7 separate regions of the Homo sapiens genome follow, and regions 1, 2, 3, 4, 6 and 7 are each linked to region 5. Evidence: promoter capture Hi-C in 16 types of primary human blood cells and fetal thymus (Javierre and others, 2016). All regions are on one chromosome and are shown on one strand. Each heading gives the region's core, a stretch centred on a gene start or on the middle of the fragment in contact. The rest is flanking DNA. Distances are from core to core; before and after follow the strand shown.

Evidence for each region. Contacts are between HindIII fragments. The CHiCAGO score rates a contact against its expected background, and 5 or more counts as called.
Region 1: a fragment that was not itself captured here is called in contact with the fragment with the promoter of DUSP11 in region 5 in 1 of 17 cell types (activated CD4 T cells); the score reaches 5.1 in activated CD4 T cells.
Region 2: a contact is called between a fragment that was not itself captured here and the fragment with the promoter of DUSP11 in region 5, in 1 of 17 cell types (erythroblasts). The highest score is 8.7, in erythroblasts.
Region 3: a contact is called between a fragment that was not itself captured here and the fragment with the promoter of DUSP11 in region 5, in 6 of 17 cell types (neutrophils, naive CD4 T cells, total CD8 T cells and 3 more). The highest score is 6.6, in neutrophils.
Region 4: a fragment that was not itself captured here is called in contact with the fragment with the promoter of DUSP11 in region 5 in 3 of 17 cell types (fetal thymus, total CD8 T cells and erythroblasts); the score reaches 5.8 in fetal thymus.
Region 6: a contact is called between a fragment that was not itself captured here and the fragment with the promoter of DUSP11 in region 5, in 4 of 17 cell types (fetal thymus, total CD8 T cells, neutrophils and 1 more). The highest score is 8.9, in fetal thymus.
Region 7: a contact is called between a fragment that was not itself captured here and the fragment with the promoter of DUSP11 in region 5, in 1 of 17 cell types (M0 macrophages). The highest score is 5.3, in M0 macrophages.

The regions. Positions count from the first base shown.
Region 1 is chr2:74,250,628-74,254,070 of GRCh38, forward strand. It overlaps SLC4A5 (solute carrier family 4 member 5), which reads right to left. Exons shown (of 31, transcript NM_133478.3): 15 at 2,347-2,501; 16 at 1,552-1,761. Among named protein-coding and RNA genes, the nearest start is that of MTHFD2, 54 kb to the left of the region's middle. The HindIII fragment of the contact is 4,323 bases long and covers 1-3,443 here.
Region 2 is chr2:74,222,648-74,225,998 of GRCh38, forward strand. SLC4A5 (solute carrier family 4 member 5) reads right to left here. Exons shown (of 31, transcript NM_133478.3): 28 at 2,193-2,348; 29 at 221-305. Among named protein-coding and RNA genes, the nearest start is that of MTHFD2, 26 kb to the left of the region's middle. The HindIII fragment of the contact is 4,313 bases long and covers 1-3,351 here.
Region 3 is chr2:74,124,432-74,127,908 of GRCh38, forward strand. It overlaps a transcript of TET3 not described here. Among named protein-coding and RNA genes, the nearest start is that of BOLA3, 22 kb to the right of the region's middle. The HindIII fragment of the contact is 788 bases long and covers 1,053-1,840 here.
Region 4 is chr2:74,164,435-74,167,646 of GRCh38, forward strand. It overlaps MOB1A (MOB kinase activator 1A), which reads right to left. Exons shown (of 6, transcript NM_018221.5): 3 at 2,580-2,673; 4 at 784-917. Among named protein-coding and RNA genes, the nearest start is that of MOB1A, 13 kb to the right of the region's middle. The HindIII fragment of the contact is 959 bases long and covers 1,479-2,437 here.
Region 5 is chr2:73,778,238-73,781,537 of GRCh38, forward strand. It overlaps DUSP11 (dual specificity phosphatase 11), which reads right to left and starts at 1,866. Exons shown (of 9, transcript NM_003584.3): 1 at 1,637-1,866; 2 at 64-139. The coding sequence starts at 1,737. RefSeq lists enhancers at 1,358-1,507, 1,638-1,687, 1,768-1,837. The HindIII fragment of the contact is 6,659 bases long and covers 1,534-3,300 here.
Region 6 is chr2:74,202,568-74,206,012 of GRCh38, forward strand. MTHFD2 (methylenetetrahydrofolate dehydrogenase (NADP+ dependent) 2, methenyltetrahydrofolate cyclohydrolase) reads left to right here. Exons shown (of 8, transcript NM_006636.4): 2 at 3,138-3,322. Among named protein-coding and RNA genes, the nearest start is that of MTHFD2, 5.7 kb to the left of the region's middle. The HindIII fragment of the contact is 1,113 bases long and covers 900-2,012 here.
Region 7 is chr2:74,091,154-74,094,828 of GRCh38, forward strand. TET3 (tet methylcytosine dioxygenase 3) reads left to right here. Exons shown (of 12, transcript NM_001287491.2): 9 at 1,749-1,838; 10 at 2,376-2,513. Among named protein-coding and RNA genes, the nearest start is that of BOLA3, 55 kb to the right of the region's middle. The HindIII fragment of the contact is 4,624 bases long and covers 1-3,675 here.

The DNA.
Region 1 (3,443 bases), core at 560-3,059, 470 kb after region 5:
GTGGATGGGGCAAAGATCTTTCCACCAGAACATTTAGGGCCAGGGATGAATTCCTGTAGGACTGAGTTTGTGGTTGGCACCACCCACATTGGGAAGGGTGGACATAGAGGGTTTTGGAGAGGGAAAGTCTGATGGGAATATGTCCTGGGGTAGACCTAACATTCCATGGAGAATGGAAGTCCTGGGGTCCACAGATGGTGGTCCTCCTCACATCCCTGACCATCTGCAGGGTGCCTGCTCTTGGTGAACACAGGAGTGTCTAACTTTCGGTGACAGAAGCATCCCAGATTATAACAGATTCATTAAGAACAGATCCTAAACCTTATAACTGGTTGGTATTTGTTTGTTTTTTGATTTTGCTATCTGGAACAGCTGAGTGGAAGATTTTAGGTTTGGAGACACTGTTTACTGGGATTGCTATTCCCATAGCCCCTAATGCAGTCCTTAGCATGGAGCAGAGTTTCTCAACCTCAGTTCTGCTGATATTTTGGACTGGATACTCCTTTGCTGCAGGGGCTGTCCCATGCACTGCAGGATGTTTAGCAGCTACCTACTAGATGCGAGTAGCATCTCCCCTCTCCGGTTGTGACAAGCAAAAATGTCTCTGGACATTGCCAAATTCCCTGGGCTCGGGGGTAGGGGGACTAAGGAGGGCCAAAGCTGCTTACAGTGAGAACCACTGGTATAAAGCCAAGGGCATATAAAACATGACTTCATTCTCAAAGTCATGATTTATATGTAGATTTTCAAGGCCACATCCTTTCCTAAATCTAGATCAACCTGAATGACTCCAAGAGCTGGAAAAGAAACCCAGGCCAGGAGAACTTTCTCTTATTTTCTTTAAAAAAAAAAAAAGTTTTTGAATAGGTAAATTAAGTTTTAAAAAAGGTACTGTTATTGAGTTGTGTCCCCCCAAAAGATATATTAAGGTCCTAACATCTATGTAACACCTATGCAAATGTAATCCAGTTTAGATTAAGTCATTATGGTGGGCCCTATTCCAACATGACTGGGGTCCATACACAAAGAGGAAAGTGCTCTGTGAAGACAGACACACAGGAGGCCATGTGGTGGAGAGGCAGAGCCGGGGGTGATGCGGCTGCCAGCCAGGAACACCAAGGACTGCTGGCCACCACCAGAAGCCAGGAGGAGGCCAGGAAGGATTCCACCTGGAGCCTCAGGGAGCACGGTGGTCCTGCCAACACCTGCTGTGGAACTCCTGGCCTCCAGAACTGCAGGAGAGTAACCTTCTGTGGTTTTAAGCCACCTAGTTTGTGGTACTTTGTTACAGCAGACCCAGGAAACAGGCACCAAAGGATATCTAAGAGAAAAGTTTGGGTTCCTCTCCTCTTGTATGGGTCTCAAATTCCCCTCTCCTGAGGCAACCTTTTGGGGATCCATGATGGGGTTCAAGGGCTCTGGGAGGGAAAGAAGGCAGGGGTGACCTCGAGTGGGCACTACAGACCATGGTTGGGAAAAGTCCCTAGAGGGCAGCTGAGAAGGGAGAAGTCTAAAGGACAGCAGGGTCACTGGGAGGCCTGGGGTGGGCACCTTCCTGTCCAGATAAGTTCCTCCCCGATTTCATGCATGGCTGGCATCTCTCCATCATCCCCGCTGCTTGTTCCGCCGGCCCCGCCACTGCCAGCCCCGCCGCCACTGCCACCACCACCACCACCTCCATTGCCTCCTCCAGGAGCTCCGCCGCCTCCTCCCACAGAGCCATTCATCTGGCCCAGCTCTGCTAGGGAGAACACAGATTTCCTGGAAGAGAAGGGGGATGAAGGAGAGTGGGTCCCCCAGAGCACCCCTCACCTCTCCAACCAAAATTATGAAATATCTTAAAAGACAGACAAAAATGCAGAAAATTGTCTAACAATATCCACACGCAGGTCACCTAGATTTTACAAATGTTCACATTTAGCCATATTTGTTTCTGATATATCTTATTATTTTTAAACTTATTTTAAACATTATTTTGAGACAGGGTCAAACTCTGTTGCCCAGGCTGGAGTACAGTGGCATGATCACAGCTCACTGCAGCCTTGACCTCCTGGGCTCAATCAATCCTCCTGCCTCAGCCTCCAGAGTAGCAGGGACTATAGGTGCATGCCACCATGCCCAGTTAATTTGATTTTTGTTTTGTAGAGACAAGATCTCACTATGTTGCCCAGGCTGGTTTCAAACTCCTGGGCTCAAGTGATCCACCTGCCTCAGCATCCCAAAGTGTTGAGATTACAGGCATGAGCCACTATGCTGAGCCTCAGATGTATTTTAAAGAGAAATAAAATGATACCGACAGAGTTGAAGCCTCCTTTTTCTCTCCCTACTGCCCATTCTCATACACACCTCTTGTCAGCAGAGGGCACCTTCTTGGGGGGCTCAATCCGGATATTTGGGTCCCATTCTCCAGGAGGAAGGACGATGACCTCATCCAGAAATTCATCAATTCCTGCGATCAGATCTTCCCGATTGCGGGCTTTGTAGGCCACGTCACTGAAGAGCTGGCGAGGAGAGAGGAGGGAGAAAAGAAAGATCGGGTCTGTTTCTGAAATGCCTGGGAGCATATCACATCTAGTTTTTAAAGGAATCCCTTTGAACCACATCTCCCACTGCCAACTCACTCTCAGTTTTTGGAATGAGACTATAGTACATTGGTAAAATATGGCACAATGGGACACAGCAGGCACTGGGGGAAGACAGCCTCTCTTGGATCTGAAGGCCAGGTCTCCATATTCTTGCTTGTAGGACTTCGGTTAAGTTACTTAACCTTTCTGTTTTCAGTTTTCCACACATCATACATATTAGAAAACCTTTGTAGAGCCCAGTCCAAGGAGCTCAGATATTTCATAACCATTTTTTACTTCCAGCCCTTCGCCCTTGGAGGCTCAGGCCGTGTTCTTCACACTGTCTCCAGAGTGTGCTTTCTGACTTACAGATTCGATGGGACTATGCTCACATTTAACCCTTTCCCATTTAGGCAAAAAAAAAAAGTGCAGCTCACTGCCAGCACTCATTTAATTTTACATAAACACACTCTTTGAGGCCGAAGCAAATCTGACTGATTTTCAATGTGAAAATGCAATATAAAAATTATTCTTAGAATTATTTCTAAAAAGAACTAACATTGGAATCATTGGAATGATCAGAATCATCTATTTTGGAAACACTGGATTCATCAAATGAATCTTAGGCCAAAAACTGTTCGAGAATGATGTTAGCATCACTCGTAGGAATGCTAGTTTTCTAGGATTTGATATTTTCAATGATTGAGAGTTAGTGTATTTTGTAAATGGAAATGCCACAACTAAAAACAGAATGCTTTAAGTAGAATGATGTCTTTTGTTTCCAAAGTCAACATATAAGAGCAATGCAAAAATAATAATAAAAGTGAGACATTTCGTGGGGAAAAGTTATCTCAGGGTAAAGCCTGCAGCCGCAAGCAC
Region 2 (3,351 bases), core at 421-2,920, 440 kb after region 5:
CTGAGGTGGAACAGTCTCATCCCAAAACCATTCCCCACTCCCTACTGGTCCGTGGAAAAACTATCTTGCACAAAACTTGTCCCTTATGACAAAAAAGTTGGGGACTGCTGCTCTAGCATCCAAAATGATTAGATCCCCCTGAGTTACAGATGAAAGTTCCTAGGGGAAAGACATGGAGGACTAGTAGTAAGAAGGGAGAGACATCATGTGTTTTACTTACTGGCAATGCAGTGGATACCGTTTTGGGGATCTGATTGGACACTTTCCATGGGAATCTTTATAACCGAGGGAGGAGGGAACTGGGGCTGGAGAAAAACAGTGGGAAAAGAGGATAAACACCAACACAACAATTTGGCTTTCTTTTTTTTTTTTTTTGAGACAGAGTCTCGCTCTACTGCCCAGGCTGGAGTGCAGTGGTGCGATCTCGGCTCACTGTAACCTCTGCCTCCTGGGTTCAAGTGATTCTCCTGCCTCAGCCTCCCAAGTAGCTGGGATTACAGGCGTGCACCCCCATACCTGGCTAATTTTTTGTATTTTTAGTAGAGATGGGGTTTCACCATGCTGGCCAGGCTGGTCTTGAACTCCTGACCTTGTGATCCCCCCTGCCTCGGCCTCCCAAAGTGCTGGGATTACAGATGTGAGCCACCGCGCGTGGCCAACAACTTGGCTTTCTTGCCAAGATGGAAAATGCATGCATGAACATTGCAAACCACCATTCTGTTCACCTCTAAACAGTTAGGGGATGCTGCAAATACCCTGGGGTCCACTGAAGGGGAATGGGCACAGTTAGCCTGCTGTCCTATACACACCATCAGACAGACCGGAACTCTTCCAGGAATGTTACTCATCAAAACAGTTTTATCTGTCACAGCAACCAGTCACTTGGGAATGAACCTCACACAACAACTGTGTTGCTATAAGACAAGTAAAATGAATTTGTATAAATTGAATCCTGTTTTTCCATTGATATATCATAATTCAGAGATTCTTTTTCCCAACCCTGTAATAGTTCTTGGCATGTGGTAGCCACTCAGATATTTATTGAAAGTATCAACAAAAGAAGTATTTGTCTTTAAAAGGCACTTAGTCTCTGTTTCTTTGTTTTCAGAACCCACCTTTACAAATCATCTACAAACACATGCATTATGGGACTCTTCCTGGAAGAGCACAGTAATTAAGGACCAGGGGAGTTCTGACTGATCAGAAGATGGTTTAATCACCACCAGCCAGTCAGAAGGGATTTGCCTTGAACAGGTTTCATCTGCACAAGGCAAAATCACGAGAACAGGACAGGGTGGATGCAGGGACGTGAGTTTGGGTCAAATTGGGAGATTGGGAACCAAGCACAGCATTAGGAGATGGCACAGGCAGCTTAGCATATCAGAAACCAGCAAAGTCAGGAATTATTTTCTTAATTCCTTCTTAGAAATGTAGCTACATGTCCATTTTGGGTAAGTCACTTCCTTTTGTGGGGACAGTTTCATCATAAGTAATGAACACATGAATTAAGAATCTTTCTGCCTCATGTTTTGTGATTCACTATAATTTCTGGACTGGCCCCTTGTCTGTTGACTCCCTGAGTGTTTTGGGGATGAAATGGGAAGGGACCATGGGAGAAGAGGGGCAGATGGGGCAACCATGTTGTCCCAGACATCTGGGAAATGTAGCCAGTCTCCTTTTGGCGAGGATACCTGCCTCTTTCCCCATCTTTGTCCTCAATACCCTAGGCAAAGGCGCAAGCAAAACTTGTTCCCAGCCCCTCCTGCCTGTCTGGAGTCCAGTCTACTTATAAGGCCCCATTAGACACCTCTCCCCAAGTCTGCTCCACTCTTTGGAGGTCAGTCTTCATAACCTCCTTCCATGCTGGAGCTGCCTCCTGGCCCTTCCCACAGGAACCCGCTTGCTGTGATCACGGCCGTAAAGCCCACAGTGATGGAAAGAGTGGGCATGGCCAGTCACCTTTTCCCTGGACAGGGAGTCTCATTCACTCTGGCCCACCCTGAGGATATTCACATAAACAGAAGAGCCCTCAACACCCCAGACCAAGACAAGCAGATGCCCCAGCCCATCCTGGACTGGGCCGAGGCACTGCTGCAGGCCACCCAAGAAGCCGCCCTCTCCCTGTCCCTGGCAAAAGTGGAGAGAAGGTCTCTCAATTTCTCCTCTGTGCCCCGGCCTCACATCTTCCCCACCTCCTCATCACAGTCCTCGTGGGCCCCTTTTTTTCTCTTCCTCTTCTTGTCTGTCTCCTTTTTTTCCTTCTCTGGGAGGATGTTGTCAATCCAGGCCAGGTCGTGCTGGGAAAAGATGAAATCCAGAAGCCTTCGAACGATGATGAGGCCCAGGATCTGTGGTGGAGAGAGACTAAAGTTTTGTGAGAATTTGGAGAAAACTGTGGTCTCAATGCCCAAACTCAGGCATAGATTTTTTTCTCCCTCAGTCGGCTGAGTTCAGGGACTTTTTGTGGTGTCTTTGGAGCCGTCTCGAAGCTCCCATAAGCCATTATTCACTTTCCCTCCACCGTAGTTCCTCTTGTCTGGCCCCTCAGGTGAGTGACCATGCCTACCAGTGACCAAGAGGGACGGAGCCTGTGACAGCCGAAGTGGGGAGCCTCAGAAAGGCCATGGGCTGGAGAACTACAGTTATTCTTTAAATTAGTGGTTCTCAGCCAGGCGTGGTGGCTCACACCTGTAATCCCAGCACTTTGGGAGGCCGAGGTGGGCAGATCGCCTGAGGTCAGGAGTTTAAGACCAGCCTGGCCAACATGGTGAAACCCTGTCCCTACTAAAAGTACAAAAGTTAGCCAGGCATGGTGGTGGGTGCCTGTAGTCCCAGCTGCTCAGGAGACTGAGGCAGAAGAATCGCTAGAAACCGGGAGGCGGAGGTTGCAGTGAGCCAAGATTGTGCCACTGCATTCCATCCTGGGCGACAGAGCAAGACTCCATCTCAAACAAATAAAATAAATACATAAATTAGTGGCTCTCAAACTTGAGCATGCACCAGGACCTGGAGGGCTTGTTAATTAATACACAAATCACTGGATTCCCCCAGTTTCTGATTTAGCAGGTCAGGTAATGCCTGAGAATTTATGTCTCTAACCACTCTGTACATTTGCCAAAACTCATAGACCCACACATTGAATTTTACTGTATGCAAATTAAACAAAAAAATCAATAGGTGGAGGGTGTGGGTCTTGCCCTGCCCTATCTGGCTGTGTGTCCAGGGTCACTCTGCTCATGCTCTCTGAGCCTCATTTTCTCATCTGTAAAGCGGGGTTATTAGTGCTTTGGGGGCTGGTGTGGACTCAGTGGAACAGTACTCAGTAAATGCTAATCATGACTACTACTGCCT
Region 3 (3,477 bases), core at 197-2,696, 350 kb after region 5:
GTGTACCCAACAGCTCATTGAGAACTGGCCACGATGACGATGGCGGTTTTGTTGAATAGAAAAGGGGGAAATGTGGGGAAAAGAGATCAGATTGTTACTGTGTAGGTGTAGAAAGTAGACATGGGAGACTCCATTTTGTTCTGTACTAAGAAAAATTCTTCTGCCTTGGGATGCTGTTAATCTATAACCTTACCCCCAACCCCGTGCTCTCTGAAACATGTGCTGTGTCCACTCAGGGTTAAATGGATTAAGGGCGGTGCAAGATGTGCTTTGTTAAATAGATGCTTGAAGGCAGCATGCTCGTTAAGAGTCATCACCACTCCCTAATCTCAAGTACCCAGGGACACAAACACTGCGGAAGGCCGCAGGGTCCTCTGTCTAGGAAAACCAGAGACCCTTGTTCACATGTTTATCTGCTGACCTTCCCTCCACTATTGTCCTATGACCCTGCCAAATCCCCCTCTCCGAGAAACACCCAAGAATGATCAATAAATACTAAAAAAAAAAAAGAAAAAGGTTAAAAACTAAAAAAAAAAAAAAGGTGCTAACATGTATATTTAATACTACTCGGAATTTTTTTTCTTTTTTTTTTTGAGATGGAGTCTCACTCTGTCACCCAGGCTGGGGTGCAATGGTGCAATCTCAGCTCACTGCATCCTCTGCCTCCTGGGTTCAAGTGATTCTCCTCCCTCAGCCTCCTGAGTAGCTGGGATTACAGGTGCCTGCCACCTGCAGAGACAGGGTTTCACCATGTTGGCCAGGCTGTTCTCGAACTCCTGACCTCAGGTGATCTGCCTGCCTCGGCCTCCCAAAGTGCTGGGATTACAGGCGTGAGCCACTGCACCTGGCCTCACTTGGATTATTTTTTAATTGTGGCGCTGTTTCTCCCTACAACATGACTCTTACAGATAGCTTCAAAAGCCTGGCTGGATGGATAACACCATGGTACAATACACGTTTTCAGACAGCCACACAGTAGACTTTTAGGCATCATACACTTGAGTTTTCCTTGGCTAGTTTTGACTATAATCAAGTTTTTCATGCTGAGATGAAGCTTTACATGGAAAGCTGCTAACTGCCAATTTACAACTGTGTCATTTGAAATTCCATAAACATTTCTTCTTTTGGCAGCATTTATAAATAACAAAAAAGTTGTATTCTAGCTTCTAACCATCCTTTGTGAATAAGAAGTGTGGCATTGTGGAGGTACAGAAGACTTCAGCTCTCATATATAGTACCTGCCATAAATTAAAGTATGCTAAAATTTTTTTTTTTTTTAACTTTATAGAGATGAGGTCTCACTGTGTTGCCCAGGCTGGTCTCAAACCCCTAGCCTCAAGCAATCCTCTTGCCTCAGCCCCCTAAAGTGTTGGGATTACAGGCATGAGCCACCATGCCCAGCTGAATGTTATACTTTGTAGCTCAGTAAATTGAACTATGCTAGTTTGTTAAATTTTACCATTATTCACTTAGAGAAAATCACAAACAAAATTTAAAATCTCAATTTTCTTTGAGGCAAGGGTCTTGCTATATTGTCCAGGCTGGTCTTGAACTTGTGGCTCAGGTGATCCAACCACCTCAGCCTCTGAGTAGCTGGGATTCTCACCCTTTTTGAGTACAGAAGTAAATAAGTACTTGCACTAAAATTTTGTATTTTTTCTTAAACATGGTTAAGATTATTGTTTTCATCATAATTAACCTATCATGTCTATTTGATCCCATAGAGCCAATTGAAATCTGGAGAAATTTGGTCAGTTAACCTGTTGGTTTTTATATATGGCACCAACTGATCTCTACCAGATTGACACAGTAGATCAGCTGTTTTAATGCTGAAAAGAGAAGCTTATATAAATACAGTGCACATCTATTAATGCTTCTCACGTCTGTAGTTCTGTTTCAGGCAGAGGTTTTTTGGCATAGGACCTGTATTCAGCTCACACTTTCCTAGGCTGGCTATGAGTAGAATGCCTCGTGGCAGTAGCTACACTCATACATAGGCATTGATCTTAGATCTGTGTAGAGTTTTAAATCATTGGCATCTTTTAGGCCTAAATTTTATATTTGCTGGATTTTTTTTTTTTTTTTTTTTGAGATGGAGTCTTGCTCTGTCACCCAGGCTGGAGTGCAGTGGTGCATCTCTGCTCACTGCAAGCTCCGCCTCCCGGGTTCACACCATTCTCCTGCCTCAGTGTCCCACGTAGCTGGGACTACAGGCACCCGCCACCACTCCCGGCTAATTTTTTGTATTTTTTCAGTAGAGACGGGGTTTCATCGTGTTAGCCAGCATGGTCTCAATCTCCTGACCTCATGATCCACCTGCCTCGGCCTCCCAAAGTGCTGGGATTACAGGCGTGAGCCACCACACCCAGCCTGGAATTTTTTTAAAGCAGTAAATGTAAACGCTAACTTTAGAAAATATTAATAATATGATTAATTTTAGCCAGAATAAAATAATTTGCCATCTTTATAGAAATCTGGCCACGTAGGAATTAGCATTCTTAAAATTGGCACTGAAGCCAGAAGATGGATAGTGAAATTGGTCACATGCATAGACAGCTACCAAGTCCAGTGTTTAATGGTGCCCAGTGAAGAGGATTGAAGCACACACCAGAGAAGCAGCTGTAACTGGGTCAGAAGAAAAGTGTCAGGCTGAGACTTAGTTTTAGGTAGAAAAATGAGCTGCTTGCCTCTACATTCATTATTGGCTCATCTCATAAACTCAAATGAGGGGATCAGAAGCTGGCAGAAGGGACGGACTCATGCTTGTTGATCCGGATGACCTCTGTTTCAAGGTTCCAGCAATGAGTTAGCTTACATTTTACAAGGTCTCCCAAAGTGAAATGTAGTAGTCTTTACTTAGTGACAGACTAATTTACAACTATGTAATTCTTTTAAGTTTGTAATTAAAATTTCTTCTGAATTATTAATGGCTTTATTGACATGATGTTAATAAAGCCTCTCATCTTGCTGTTAAGTATTGTAGTGAGAAAATCAGCTGACCTGGAAACCATGGGGATTGGTTCTAATGAGCCATAAATGCTTCCCCTCTTCCTTCAGCACTAGTAGACTACCAGCTTTAGGCATTTAACCAAACGAATTGGAGACAGAAAATATTAAAATCCAGCCATCCTATATCAGATGATGAACTCATTTCCAGACTAACTACCCAAGAAAGCAAGTTAAACACTGTAAAAGCCTAAAACGGGGCAAGTTGGGATTAGCTTTTAAAATGCCTGCCTTGAAAAACACATTATTCTGTGAGGTTTTTTTTTTTTCTTTAAAGTTGTGCAAATTTGATTCGGAAAAATAGCTTAATAGGTTTGTATAGGGCACGGGAGAAGGGGTTGTGTGCATAAATGTATGATGATTATTTTAAGTGTGTGCTTCAGCAGCGACAACAAACAGATGAAGATACGTGATACTGACTAAACAGGCAAGAGTATTTTCTAGTCTCAGTTCTTCTAGTCAATGCCTAAA
Region 4 (3,212 bases), core at 708-3,207, 390 kb after region 5:
TTGAACCTGGGAGGTGGAGATTGCAGTGAGCCAAGATTGTGCCGCTGCACTCCAGCCTGGGCAACAGAGTGAGACTCTGTCTCAAAAAATAAAAAAATAAAAAAAGAAAACATGAATAAATATTTTTATAATCTTGAAGCAGGGAAAAGCTTTCTAATTGTTATATTAAAATCAAGTCATAAAAGATATAATAGGACAAAATAGTAAGGTTGTGTACAGCAAAAATACTCCATGAACAAAATGAGACAAAAGGTAACCCGGGGAAAAAGATATACAACACATACGACAAAGCGCTAATATCCTTTACACAGAAATAGATGAAAGATATAAACAGAAAACACACAATGATCAATAAAACAAACAAAAAGGCTAAAATGCTCAATCTCATCAACATTTTTTAAATGCATATTAAAACAGAAATTTAACCAAATTAGAAAATATTAAAAAATGAGTAATAACCAGTGTTGGTGAAGAAACACTGGCAAACACAAACAGGGCTGGGGGGAGTACATGTTGGTACAAACTTTTTGGAGGAGAATTTGGCAGTCTCTACAAGTATAACAATGTTAAAAAGAGCAGATTTATCATTCAAAAAGAGAAACAGGCTGGATACGGTGGCTCAAACCTGTAATCCCAGCACTGTGGGAGGCCAAGGCAGGAGGATCACTTGAGGCCAGGAGTTTGAGACCAACCTGGACAACACAGCAAACCCCCCCAACTCTATTTATATTAATAAAATAAAATTTTAAAAAAAGAAAGAATACTTCGACAATGTTAACTCACCAATCTTAGAAGGAAAAAGAGTTTCATCATCAAGCTGATCTTGAACCCAAGTCATCAAATAGTCAATGTATTTTGGTGCAGAACATTTGATTGGCTTTTTAATATTAGTACCATCTGCCCAGTGATATTCATATCTGAAGAGAAAAATGTTTTACTGATAAATTTTTCAAAAATATTAACAAATGTGCAAGTTGTGATTAAAACAGGTTCATTCACATTTTGTCAATAGAAGTTACATCTAACTTTAATAAATCACCTTAAGTTCTACTGAAGATTACTGTGAGTTCCCTATGTAATTATCCAGAAAGTGACAGTTATAACTGGAAGAAAAAAGGGAGATAATGTGGCAGGAGGCAATGCCAGGATAGATGTTTTATTAACAACACAGCCCTGGGAAACACAAAGGAACTGCATTCCTGTAAAGCAGAAGGTTGCTGAGGGCTGGGCATGGAGCCGATGGATCCACTACATTCTTCTGAGATTCTTGGTCATCAATTTATTATCATCAATGGACCCAAGATTATAAAACTCTGTTTTGGGGGCCAGGTGTTAGAGATATACATTAGGCATGCATACTTTCCCCCCTTACCTTTGCCGAGCTAGAAGGATTAACAAGAGTTATACAAAACATCACTGTGTAAAGCATTTGAGCCATAGGTAAGTTTAATTTTCCTGTTTATTTTCATTTCTTTTAAAGCTTGAATAATAAAACTTAACACAATATAAAATAAAAACATTCTTCCTAAAATATTATAATAAAAATAGAACTACAAACTCATTAGGGATCTTTTTTCCTTTACACTTGTAGCAAAGTCAGAAAGGACAATCTTTTCTAAGAAGCAAACATCTTGATAACATCTATCATCACATAAAATCAGTCATTTATTATAAGAAAAAAAAAAGAAACTGGAAGGAAACACAGCAAACATTAATCCCATCATATGATGGACTTAATATTATGAGTGATAGAGTTCCATCTTTTTCAGTATTTCTTGAAATTTATTAAAGTCAAAATGTTTTTAAATCTAGCATCTTCAAGCCAGATAATTACTTCTAAATTGTGCTGCTTTAAATACTAAATAAGCACAAGAAAAAATAATCAAATATTAAAAGATCAACTAAAAACTCTTCCAAGAAATTCATTTAAAAACTAGAAACAGGAAACATAAATGTTATTAATAAAATTGAAAAAATAAAATGTTTGCAATTCAAGACAAATGTAACTCAAATTTCTGTTTATTCCTATAATAAAACATTCAGACTTACTATGATGCAACATAAAAATGAAAACAGGGAGTACCCACATACTAAAGTATTTAATAATAACTAATAGCTGGCCAGGTGCAGTGGCTCACACCTTTAATCCCAGCACTTTGCGAGGCCGAGGTGGGCAGATCACTTGAGGCCAGGAGTTTGAGACCAGCCCTGGGGAACATGGCAAAACCCCATTTCTACTAAAAATGCACAAATTAGCTGGGAGTGGTGGCACAGGCCTGTAATCCCAGCCACTCGGGAGGCTGAGGCATGAGAACCGCTTGAACCCGGAAGGCAGAGGTTGTTAGTGAGCCAGGATCACACACTGCAATCCAGCCTGGCAACAGAGCGAGACTCTGTCTCAAAATAAATAAAATTTTAAAATTACACAATAACTAAAAGCTTACAGGTGAGTAGTCAAGAACCAATAAAACTGAATCACCTTCACACAAACGGATAACAAATCTTAACTGTTTAATTTCTATCAATTGGTGATAAAGTAAAACTAATCCAAACACCTATATAATAGGCAGTATATGTACCTCGGACCTGCAGACATGACTGGACAGCTTGCTTCAGTGCAGAATTCTGTAATAGTTCCATATAACATGTTGATCTGGTTAAAGAAATCCACAGCTGCAGAGATAATAGAATTGTGTCAAAATGTCTGTGTAAACACAAAATATGAGACCTCCAGTTGAAGGAAAAACAGACAATACATTTAGGTTCTTAGCTGAACCCTTGAGACATTCAATAATCCAATGATACTGTAACTTGTAGTATACTACACTTTTTTTTTTCTCTGAAACAGTCTTGTTCTGTTGCCCAGGCTGGTGCAATCTTGGCTCACTGCAACCTCCGCTTCCCGGGTTCAAGCAATTCTCCTGCCTCAGCCTCCCAAGTAGTTCGGATTACAGGTGCATGCCACCACGCCCAGCTAATTTTGTTTTGGTATTTTTAGTAGAGACAGGGTTTCACCATGTTGGCCAGGCTGGTCTTGAACTCCTGACCTCATGATCCACTCGCATGTAACAGCAGGAAAATAAGATACTGGAGATAATTCTAACTTAACGATGACTATTATATCCTTTGGATATACAATATGATTACATCCAAGGGAATGAAAAATCCATAGTTTACCACTTTGGACCAGATAATACCATTTGTGTTAGGAA
Region 5 (3,300 bases), core at 616-3,115:
AGAGCAGTGTTCTGCATGGTGAACTCAGATGCCTGAAAGAATACTGAATTAACTTTTGCTTACCTTTTGCAAAGGAACTTTGAAAGCAATGAAACGAGTCCCAGGCATCCGCTGTCCAACTGGGAGATAGTCTTTCCACCTATTAGATATATTTTTTGTTAGCCAAATTGTATGTTAGCCTTGTTTCCTTGCACAAAATAAGACTTTTTGAAAATGGGAATCATAGCCCGCACAACATGTCCTCTCTCCTCTCTGCTTTGCATTTCGCCACTCCACTTATTAAACCCCACCAAGTAACGACCTATACCGTCCTTCTCTCCTGTTTCCCCATCATAAAAACGAACACAAGCCAACACAACAGTACAACTCAAATAAGGCCTATATAAAACCGGAGATACCCAGAACTTCTGTATCCCTGTTAAACTTGGCCCAGTACCAGATACTAAAGTGCCATTAATACAAACATATTCACTGAAATAATTTAAATTCAATTATTTCACTTCACGCTTTTAGTTTTCATACGACTGATGCCATAAAGTTCAATTAGTAGGAAACTTCAAGTTCATATTTTAAGAGAAAACCTGCTAGAAGAGGGACTGTGAACTTCACTTAATAATGCTAGGAACTGGCCGGGCGCGGTGGCTCACGTCTGTTAATCCCGGCAATTTGGGAGGCTGAGGCAGGTGGATCACCTGAGGTCAGGAGTTCGAGACCAGCCTGACCCACATGGTGAAACCCCATCTCTACTAAAAATACAAAAAAAATTAGCCGGGTGTGGTGGCGGGCGCCTGTAATCCCAGCAACTTGGGCGGCTGAGGGAGGAGAATCGCTTGAATCCGGGAGGCGGAGGTTGCAGTGAGCCGAGATTGGACCATTGCACTCCAGCCTGGCGGAGAAGAGCAAAAATCCATCCCAAAAACAAAAACAAAAAAACGGATTGGAAGAAAACAAACAGGAGATTCACTAATTAGAACCCCACTGCAATAAGTCAGGCAAGACCTGTATTAGGGTACTGACAGAAAGTGACAGTCAAAAGATAGTAGATAAAATGAAGAGGATTTATTGAGGTATGAGATGGTGGAGGATGGTCTCAAGGAGTAAAAACAGTTCAATGCACCTACGTGCAAAGTCTCAAAATTAATCATTTGTACGTATAAAGGAGTTATCTTTCAAATGAGGCCTGTTAGGAAGTAACAAAGTATGCTCTTTGTGATTTCTGGAAACAATACAAACCAACTTTCCATGTGAGATCTCAGGGCGCTACTACTGCTGGGTTCCTAACTCAAACCATTACACTTTCCGTGCCAACGTAACAAGGAATTGAGGAGGTTCCATTTTGGGAATTAAGGAGTGTCCCCAACAGTAACAGTCCCACCTTAAAGCAATCCTTCCGTATTTTACCTAAGAGCAATGGCCAGAACCTCCCTTTTACAAGAATATGGAGAAATCACAGGACATCACAGACATCGCCCCTTTCAGCTACAGCGGGTGGCGCAGAGGGTCAAAGCCTCAAAGCAAGCGGCGGACAAGTCAAGCTTGCGATGGCAACGGCGAGAGGCAGAGACCACAAACGATGAAGCCCAGACCCAGAAGCCACGAGCTGGAAAGGCCACGCCAAGGGACCAAGACATACTACCTTTCGGGGATGTGGTTTCCGCCCTTCTTCTTGGCTGAGGAGCGTCCTGAAAAGTCGCGTCTCCGGCCCCAGCCACTGCGGGGATGATGCCACTGGCTCATGTGGGTCCCAAGAAGCCGCCCACCCAATGCCAAGTCGGCCAAAAGCGCCAGTCCGGCGCCCTCAATGCCAGGATAAGACCCTAAACAGGAAAAGACTCGGCAGCCACCTACGCCGCGCTCCAGCGTCTCGCTATTGCGCATGTGCCACCGCCGGTCGTGATGGCGTAGCCACGCTGGCTTACTGAGACTCCTGATCTGTAAACAGGACTTTGGTGGCTACAGCGCCCTCTTTAGCCAGAGGCCAGTAGCACAGGTCAATAAGGGCGTGTATGCACCCTTCAGAATTCAAACAGTGAGGCACAGGGAAGTCCCTCTGCCCGATCCGCCCCACGCCCCGGTTCCTTGTGTGTTCTTCTAGATATTTACCAGCGCTTACATTCACATTTTGCATATTTTGTATACATATTTACTTTCACATATATGTATATCCTCTATTTTTATACAAAAGGAGTAACTGTACATATTCTACAGTATACCTTAAACACTGATTATCCCAGTCAATTTATGCATACATAGATTCTATTTTTAATGGCTATAGGCAATTTACTTGCTTATGAGTAACATAATTAAAAGTACCATAACGTATTTAGCCAGTTCAATATTAATGGACCTTTAGTTGTTTTCAGGTTCTTTTCAAATCTTGTTACAGACAATGCTGCAATGTGAACATCCTTATACATATATACAACTATATCTAAATTCCTAGAAGTAGAATGTCTGGAATGAAACACATACAAACTTAAAATTTGGAAAGATACTACCTAATTACCCTCCAAAAATAATGTAGAAACATACACTCCCATCAAAGCCAAACTTTTATTGGGTTCCTATCACATACCAGGTATCATGCTAGAGGTGGACAGAATGTATTTAAGTTTTAGCAAATACAAAAAATAACTGAGAGTGGAGCTCAAGTCCAAGGTTTCCACACAGTCTCAAGCATAAAGATCTGTACCCGTTAGAAAAACGTTCAATTCTGCTAAAAGTGGAACTACAAAGGACAGCATACCCTATAGCAGCTTTGAAAATAGAATAGAGTACTAAATTCCAGATTAAACTGTAAGTAATTATGATTGCAGACTTTTTTTTTTTTTTTTTGAGACCCAGTCTCACTCTGCCACCAGGCTGGAGTGCAGTGGTGCCATCTCAGCTCACTGCAACCTCCGCCTCCCGGGTTCAAGCAATTCTCCCTGCCTCAACCTCCTGAGTAGCTGGGACTACAGGTGCATGCCACGACTCCCAGCCAATTTTTTGTATTTTAGTAGAGACAGGGTTTCTCCATGTTGGCCAGGATGGTCTCGATGTCTTGACCTCATGATCAGCACTCCTCGACCTCCGAAAGTGCTGGGATTACAGGCTTGAGCCACCGCACCTGGCCAATGGCAGATTTTTGAAAGTAATTTTTACTTCTTAGTTTCTAATTTATGAAAGTAACTTACATATATTTTTAGTAATCTTTGCAACCATTTCAGAGCTGGGTAAACCAAGGATAAGAAAGGTCAGAGCTATTGAATAAATGAATATTAATAAAGCTAGACTGCTAGCTTTATTAACATTTTTGAG
Region 6 (3,445 bases), core at 206-2,705, 420 kb after region 5:
TGGCACGATCTCCGCTCACGGCAGTCTCTGCTCACTGCAACCTCTGCCTCCCGGGTTCAATCGATTCTCCTGCCTCAGCCTCCCAAGTAGCTGGGTCTACAGGTGCGTGCCACCATGCCCGGCTAATTTTTTGTATTTTTAGTAGAGACGGGGTTTCACCATATGAGCCAGGATGGTCTCAATCTCCTGACCTCATGATCTGCCTACCTTGGCTTCCCGAAGTGTTGGGATTACAGATGTGAGCCACCATGCCCGGCCTGCAAAACCCTTTTAATGAAGTCCTCTTCGACTCTAATTCTGAAATGGAATTGTGAATATTAATATGTTTTCAATTTCTTCATATACCATGGGTATAATTAAATGCTATTATATGTTGTGCCATGCTAGTATTATATAAAATCAGGGTAAAAGTATTTGATTTGCTGTAAGATTGTAACTTTTTTCTTTTTTTGAGATGGAGTCTTGCCCTGTTACACAGTCTGGAGTGCAGTGGCGTGATCTTGGCTCACTGCAACCTATGCCTCCTGGGTTCGAGATATTCTCCTACCTCAGCTCCCGAGTAGCTGAGATTACAATTACAGGGTCCTGCCACCATGCCTGGCAAATTTTTGTATTTTTAGTAGAGGCGGGGTTTTGCCATGTTGGCCAGGCTGGTCTCAAACCCCTGACCTCAAGTGATCTGCCCACCTTGGCCTCCCAAAATGCTAGGATTACAGGCATGAGCCACCGTGCCTGGCCAGATTATAATAATTTAATACTTCACAAGATGCAATACAGATTAAGATAAAGTTTATATATAAGATTATTGCATTATATCTAAGATGTTGAGATTTGGTTTAAAGTTGGTATTTAATCATAATGCAATAAAAAACACTTATTGAAGGCCTAAAGATTGTGAAAGCTTTAAAATCCCATTTAAATTAGCAGTTACTGGCCGGGTGCAGTGGTGGGTGCCTGTATTCTCAGCTATGGAGGCAAAAGCTGGAGAATTGCATGAACTTGGGAGGCTGCAGTGAGCTGAGATTGCTCCAGCCTGGGCAACAGAGCAAGACTCTGTCTCAAAAAAAATAAATAAATAAATTAGCAGTTATCTTGAGAATTAATTTTATCTGACCCTACAGGATATTCAGTACCTTGATGTTAGGTTTTAGAATATAAGAGGAGATTACTTCATTGGTCTTGAGGTTAGAGCAGTCTTCATGACACCAAGGACAGAGATCTAAAGGGAAAGGCTTTTTTTAATGGGATCATTTTACTTAAGGAAGAGATGCTCATCTAGTTTAGTTTAGTTTAGTTTAGTTTAGTTTAGTTTAGTTTAGTTTAGTTTAGTTTAGTTTAGTTAGTTTAGTTTAGTTTAGTTTTTTGAGATGCAGTCTTTCTCTGTCGCCCAGGCTAGAGTGCAGTGGGGTGATATCAGCTCACTGTAACCTCTGCCTCCTGGGTTCAAGCAATTCTCCTGCCTCAGCCTCCTGAGTAGCTGGGATTATAGGCGCGCACCACCATGCCTGGCTAATTTTTGTATTTTTAGCAGAGACGGGGTTTTGCCATGTTGACCAGGCTGGTCTGGAACTCCTGACCTCAAGCAATCCACCCTCCTCGGCCTCCTAAAGTGCTGGGATTACAGGCTTGAGCTACCACGCTGGGCCAGATGCTCATCTTTAAGTAATGGGCACTTTACTGTAAGGACATGTGTGAAAATAGGAAAACTGGGACTCTTCCACATTTGGGTTTCATGGAACCCAGGAAGAGTTGCATAAGCAGTTCTCTTTGGGAAGAGACAGCCTTTCGGGCAGCTGAACATGGTTTTGGGAACTGGAGGTTCTTCTAGATCCTGATTTTTCTTCTTGCTCCCCACCTCAGCAACAGTTTTCTGATTTCTTGCCCTGTTGTCTCCCATTGGTGTGACTATTATTCTGCCTATTCTTTCTGTCTTTGTTCTGTGGTTCTAGTTTGAACTGCCTCAGGGACGAGCTCTTACTGGTTCAACTAACTCTCACTGCTCTGTTGAGCTAAGCTTTTGCGCCAACTGGACCACTGGCCAGCCTAGAGATTGTTGCCCTTGGCGTCACATACTCACTCCTGGTCTGTCAGCTTTGGATGATATGGTGGGGTCCCTGGGAAGAGCACATTGCCAACTGTGAGAAGGAGCTTCCTCCAGTCCCCTGCCCTGCCCCTATTCTTACCAGGAAAGTCTTCCCCAGAAGGGACTGTGGGGAGTGGTGGTCATTTTGATGTTTGACCTGTCCAGTATGTTGTTTGTTTGTTTGTTTATTTTTGAGACGGAGTCTAGCTCTGTCACCGAGGCTGGAGTGCAGTGGCACAATCTCAGCTCACCGCAACCTCTGCCTCCTGGTTTCAAGTGATTCTCCTGCCTCAGCCACCTGAGTAGCTGGGATTACAGGAGCCCACCACTACGCCCAGCTAATTTTTGTATTTTTAGTAGAGACAGGGTTTCATGTGTTGGCCAGGCTGGTCTCGAACTCCTTACCTTGTGATCTGCCCTCCTCGGCCTCCCAAAGTGCTGGGATTACAAACGTGAGCCATCGTGCCCGGCCTATATTGTTTGTTTATTCAACTACAGAATATAATTTATCGATTTAAACCACCATAAAAATGAAGTCAGTTGACTGGGAAATGATTTGAAATACATGCCTGGCTGCTAACAACAGGGACAAAACACGAACTACAAATGGCATATAAGCAGATAAGAAAAACTATTTAACCTCATGGTGAGGGGTCAAACAATTGCAAATTAAAACTGTAAAACACTTAGTAATGATCAGGGCGCAGGGTGGTGTAGCAGTTAAGAGCCCAGACTGATGTGAGACTCAGCTTGACCAAGCGCTGTCAGTCACTTAAACTCCCTGAGCTTCAAATTAATGATAATAATGATTTCTATCAACTTTATCCCCCTCCATATGTAGCTGGATATATTCATTCATTTATTTATTTATTTAGCAGAGACAGGGTTTTGCCATGTTGCCCAGGCCAGTCTCAAACTCCTGGGCTCAAGCCATCCTCCTGCCCCGGCCTCCCGAAGTGCTGGGATTACAGGCATAAGCCACTACACCTGGCAGAGTTTTAGTTTTTATAAAAATTCAAGTTATTTGGTTTTGTGACTCTGTTGCCTTCTGCAGAAATGAAGCTGTTGTCATTTCTGGAAGGAAACTGGCCCAGCAGATCAAGCAGGAAGTGCGGCAGGAGGTAGAAGAGTGGGTGGCCTCAGGCAACAAACGGCCACACCTGAGTGTGATCCTGGTTGGCGAGAATCCTGCAAGTCACTCCTATGTCCTCAACAAAACCAGGGCAGCTGCAGTTGTGGGTATGTGTCCTTCTGAGACCTCGACTGCGGTTCAGTTGAGGTTTATATGAGGCAAAGTCCATTCTAATTTATGATTTCTTTTTTCTGATTAGGAAACCCAAGCAGAGGAGGCTAATGTGATTG
Region 7 (3,675 bases), core at 956-3,455, 310 kb after region 5:
AGTCTAATTTGTTATTAGATTTTTATTTACGGTAAGATTCACCCTCCCTTACAAGCAGCAGATGTGGTTGCTTCAATGAATGGAGCCCTGGGGCTACCAGGACCTAAGAACTACTAGGAATGGAAAGACATTGGCTTAATTTCTCTCAAATTCTTTCCCTGTTCTACCAACTGCCACTTCCTGTGCTCTTACGATGTGCTAAGCACTTTGCCAAGCCCCTCATAGGTTTCTCAGATGATTTCACGACCCCTCCATCCCAGTGATCTAGGCACTGTTACCCCTCACTTTACAGATGAGGCAGATGGCTTCCTTAAGCCCATGTGGCTAGTTCATGGTGAAGGCAGGTTTGAAACTCAGGCCTGTGTGTCCCTAGAGCTCACAAGCCTCACCCCCTGCTGTGCTGGTGGCAGCATCTGGACATCAGGCAGGGAGGTGGCCTGGCATCACTGGCCCAGGCTGGCCTGGTCAAGAGTGGCTGGCAGCCCTGGCGACCCCACTGGATGTACAGCTGAGCTGTGGGTCTCCACCTTCCATTTCTCATTCTGTGTGCTTGGTTCTTTTTCTCTTTCCTCTCTTCCTGCTTTCTTCTTCATAAACCCTTTGTGCCTGTGCTCGTGGTGTCCTAGGAGCCCTTCAAGCCCTGCTTGTTTTCGGAGGGCCAGACAGAGGCTGTGGATACCTGGAACTCTCTGCCACATGTCACCAGGGGCTGCTGCTTCACATAGAGCAGTGCTGTCCCACAGTACTTTCTGTGATGTGTGGAAACATTCTCTGCTGTCCATACAGGAGCCACGTGTAGCTGCTGAGTATTTAAAATGGGACTAGTGCAACCAAGGGACTGAATTGCTTTAATTTTTATTAGAATTCAGGCCGGGCATTGTGGCTCACGCCTGTAATCCTAGCACTTTGGGAGGCCAAGGTGGTTGGATCACCTGAGGTCAGGAGTTTGAGACCAGCCTGGCCAACACGGCAAAACCCCATCTCTACTAAAAATATAAAAGAAATTAGCCGGCTGTGGGCACCTCTAATCCCAGCTACTCAGGAGGCTGAGGCAGGAGAATTGCTTGAACCCAGGAGATGGAGGTTGCAGTGAGCCAAGATAATGCCACTGCACCCCAGCCTGGGTGACAGAGTGAGCCTCTGTCTCAAAGAAAAAAAAAAATTAGAATTCATCTGTATTTCTGTAGCTTCATGTGGTTTGTGAATAACATTACGTAGTACGAGTCTAGCAGCTGGAGCTTTGAAGTCTGTCTGTATTCCTGGCTTATGACAGGCTCTGGGCTGGGCTGGGCTGGGCTGGGCTGGCTGTGGAATTTCTAGCATGGATCCTGCCTGCCTTTCTCTTCCTGTCTGTAGCCTGGGAGGAAAGATCCACAGTTGTTGCTCTTGGCTTTTTCAGTCCCACTGTGCCGCACCTCTGACCTACGGTGTTCAGCACTCGAAAGCAAGAAACGTTTGATATGTTCTGGGCTGAACTGGGCGGGAGCCTGAAGGAGCAGTAGTTTAGCAGTCAGGATGACTAGACCTTCAGGCCGTGGCTTCCACAGCTTTTCCTGGGAGCCTCAGTGTCCCCAGCTGTGAAGTGGACACAGCACCACAGCCCTCCTGAAGGAAAGGCCAGAAAGACACCTGATAACACCTCCCTCCCAGCCTCCCCCACGATGCTTCAGGAATGCCAGTCCACTTCCAGGGTGCAGGGTCTGCCAGGCGGGGCTGCTCTGGATGTGTGACTGCCCCTCTCTCTGCAGGAAGAAGTGCTCCGGAAGAGTTTCCAGGACCTGGCCACCGAAGTCGCTCCCCTGTACAAGCGACTGGCCCCTCAGGCCTATCAGAACCAGGTAACGGGCCCTGGGCCTTTTGCTGCCCACATGTCACCGTCCACATCTCTGCTCAGGCTCTGAAGGTGGGAAGTGGGAGAGTGGGCTCTTTTACTCTCTTATGGGAAGAGCCTAGTCCAGAAGTAAAGCGATATGATGTGGTTCTTTGATAAAAACCCCTTTTTTACACCAGGCTACCTGCATCCCACACCGTCCCTCTTCTATCCTGGTCTTCTCCCTTCCCCTGGTAACCCATCCACCTCCTCTGGTCTGGTATCCACTGGTGAGGCCCGAGTTTCTCTCACCTGTCACCCTTGTATCTCCTAGACAAGGCAAGGGGACTTGGGATAACCCAGAAGGAAGTAATTCCTACAGGAGACTGAAAGTAACTTTTTTGTAGCTGGGGCCTCTCAGCCAGAAAACCTCCCTCCTGCAGTCGAAGGGCAAGGTGACTATCATCCTTAACATCCCTCCTTCCAAGACCTGGCCTCCCCAGGTGCAGAATCGGGGCCACTCACCTCAGGTCATGTGAGCACCTCTCCTTGGCTGTCTACACAGGTGACCAACGAGGAAATAGCGATTGACTGCCGTCTGGGGCTGAAGGAAGGACGGCCCTTCGCGGGGGTCACGGCCTGCATGGACTTCTGTGCCCACGCCCACAAGGACCAGCATAACCTCTACAATGGGTGCACCGTGGTAAGCCTGTGCCCTGTCATAGCCCCACCTGTGGGGCAACTGTGGGAGGGAGTCCACCGTGGTCTTTTCAGAAAGGCAGGCTGAGGGTAGGGAGGGACCTGGAGACAGGATCCTCAGAACTCTGGAAGGTTCCCTGCAAGACGGCCTGCCTTCGCCCACCTCCCAGAGAAAACCTCACCAGAAAACCCTTGAACAGACAAGGCTGGCTTTGTGTCTGTGTCTTAGGGGGATGCTGCAGGATGTAGCCCCTCAAGCACCTGGAGTGCCCAGTTATCTAAAGCGTGGGCCCCGGTCTCTGTGGACACTTGGATTTAAATGCAAACAAACCCTTGATTCATTCTTTGGACAAATGTGTATTGAGTACCAGCTGTGCCCAGGCACTGCTCTGCATGCTGCGGGATGAAACGGACAAAGTTCCTGCCCAAGTATGTGTGGGAATGTCCTGTAGCAATGAAGGCCAAGAGGGAAAAATGAAGTAGGGTGAGGGATAAAGCAACAGGAGATGCTGTTTTAGATGAGAGGCTGCTCTGAGGAGGGGACGTTTAAGTTGAGATGTGAATGGCGCAAGAGAGTGAGAGAGCCACTATCTGGGGGTAGAGTGCTCCAGGCAGAGGGACCAGCGTGTGTGCAGGCTCCGAGCGGGGAGCAGGCTGGGTGTGTGTTCAGGGAACAACAGGAAGGGAGTAACTTACTGCAAGGGGCAGGGAGAGTGGGATTGGAGAGGCCTGCAGGGACCAGCTCACAGGGAGCCTTGAGGGCCAGGGGAGGGTTGCGGGGTTTGCTCTAAGTGTGATGGGAAGCTGTTGAGGGCTTCTCAGCTGGGCAGCAGTAAGTTTGCATTGTAAAGTTAGACGCACTCCTGCTGCTGCAGTTAGAGAATGAGGTGTGTGATGGTGGGGGCAGAGTGAGGTGAACGGGAGGGAATAAGAGGAAGGAGGCGAAGGAGGAGGCTGGGGCAGCCATCCAGGCCAGAGGGGACACGGCTTGGGCAGGAGTGGGGGGAGGTGCTGATGGGACAGATTTTGGATGATGTGGAAGGGACTGCCAAGAGGATTTGCAGATGGGCTGGATTGTTATGTGAGCAGGACTTGAGGAGCACTCCAAGGCTTTTTGCTTCAGCATCTGGGTGAGTGTTGGTAACATGGACCGAGATGTAAGTAAC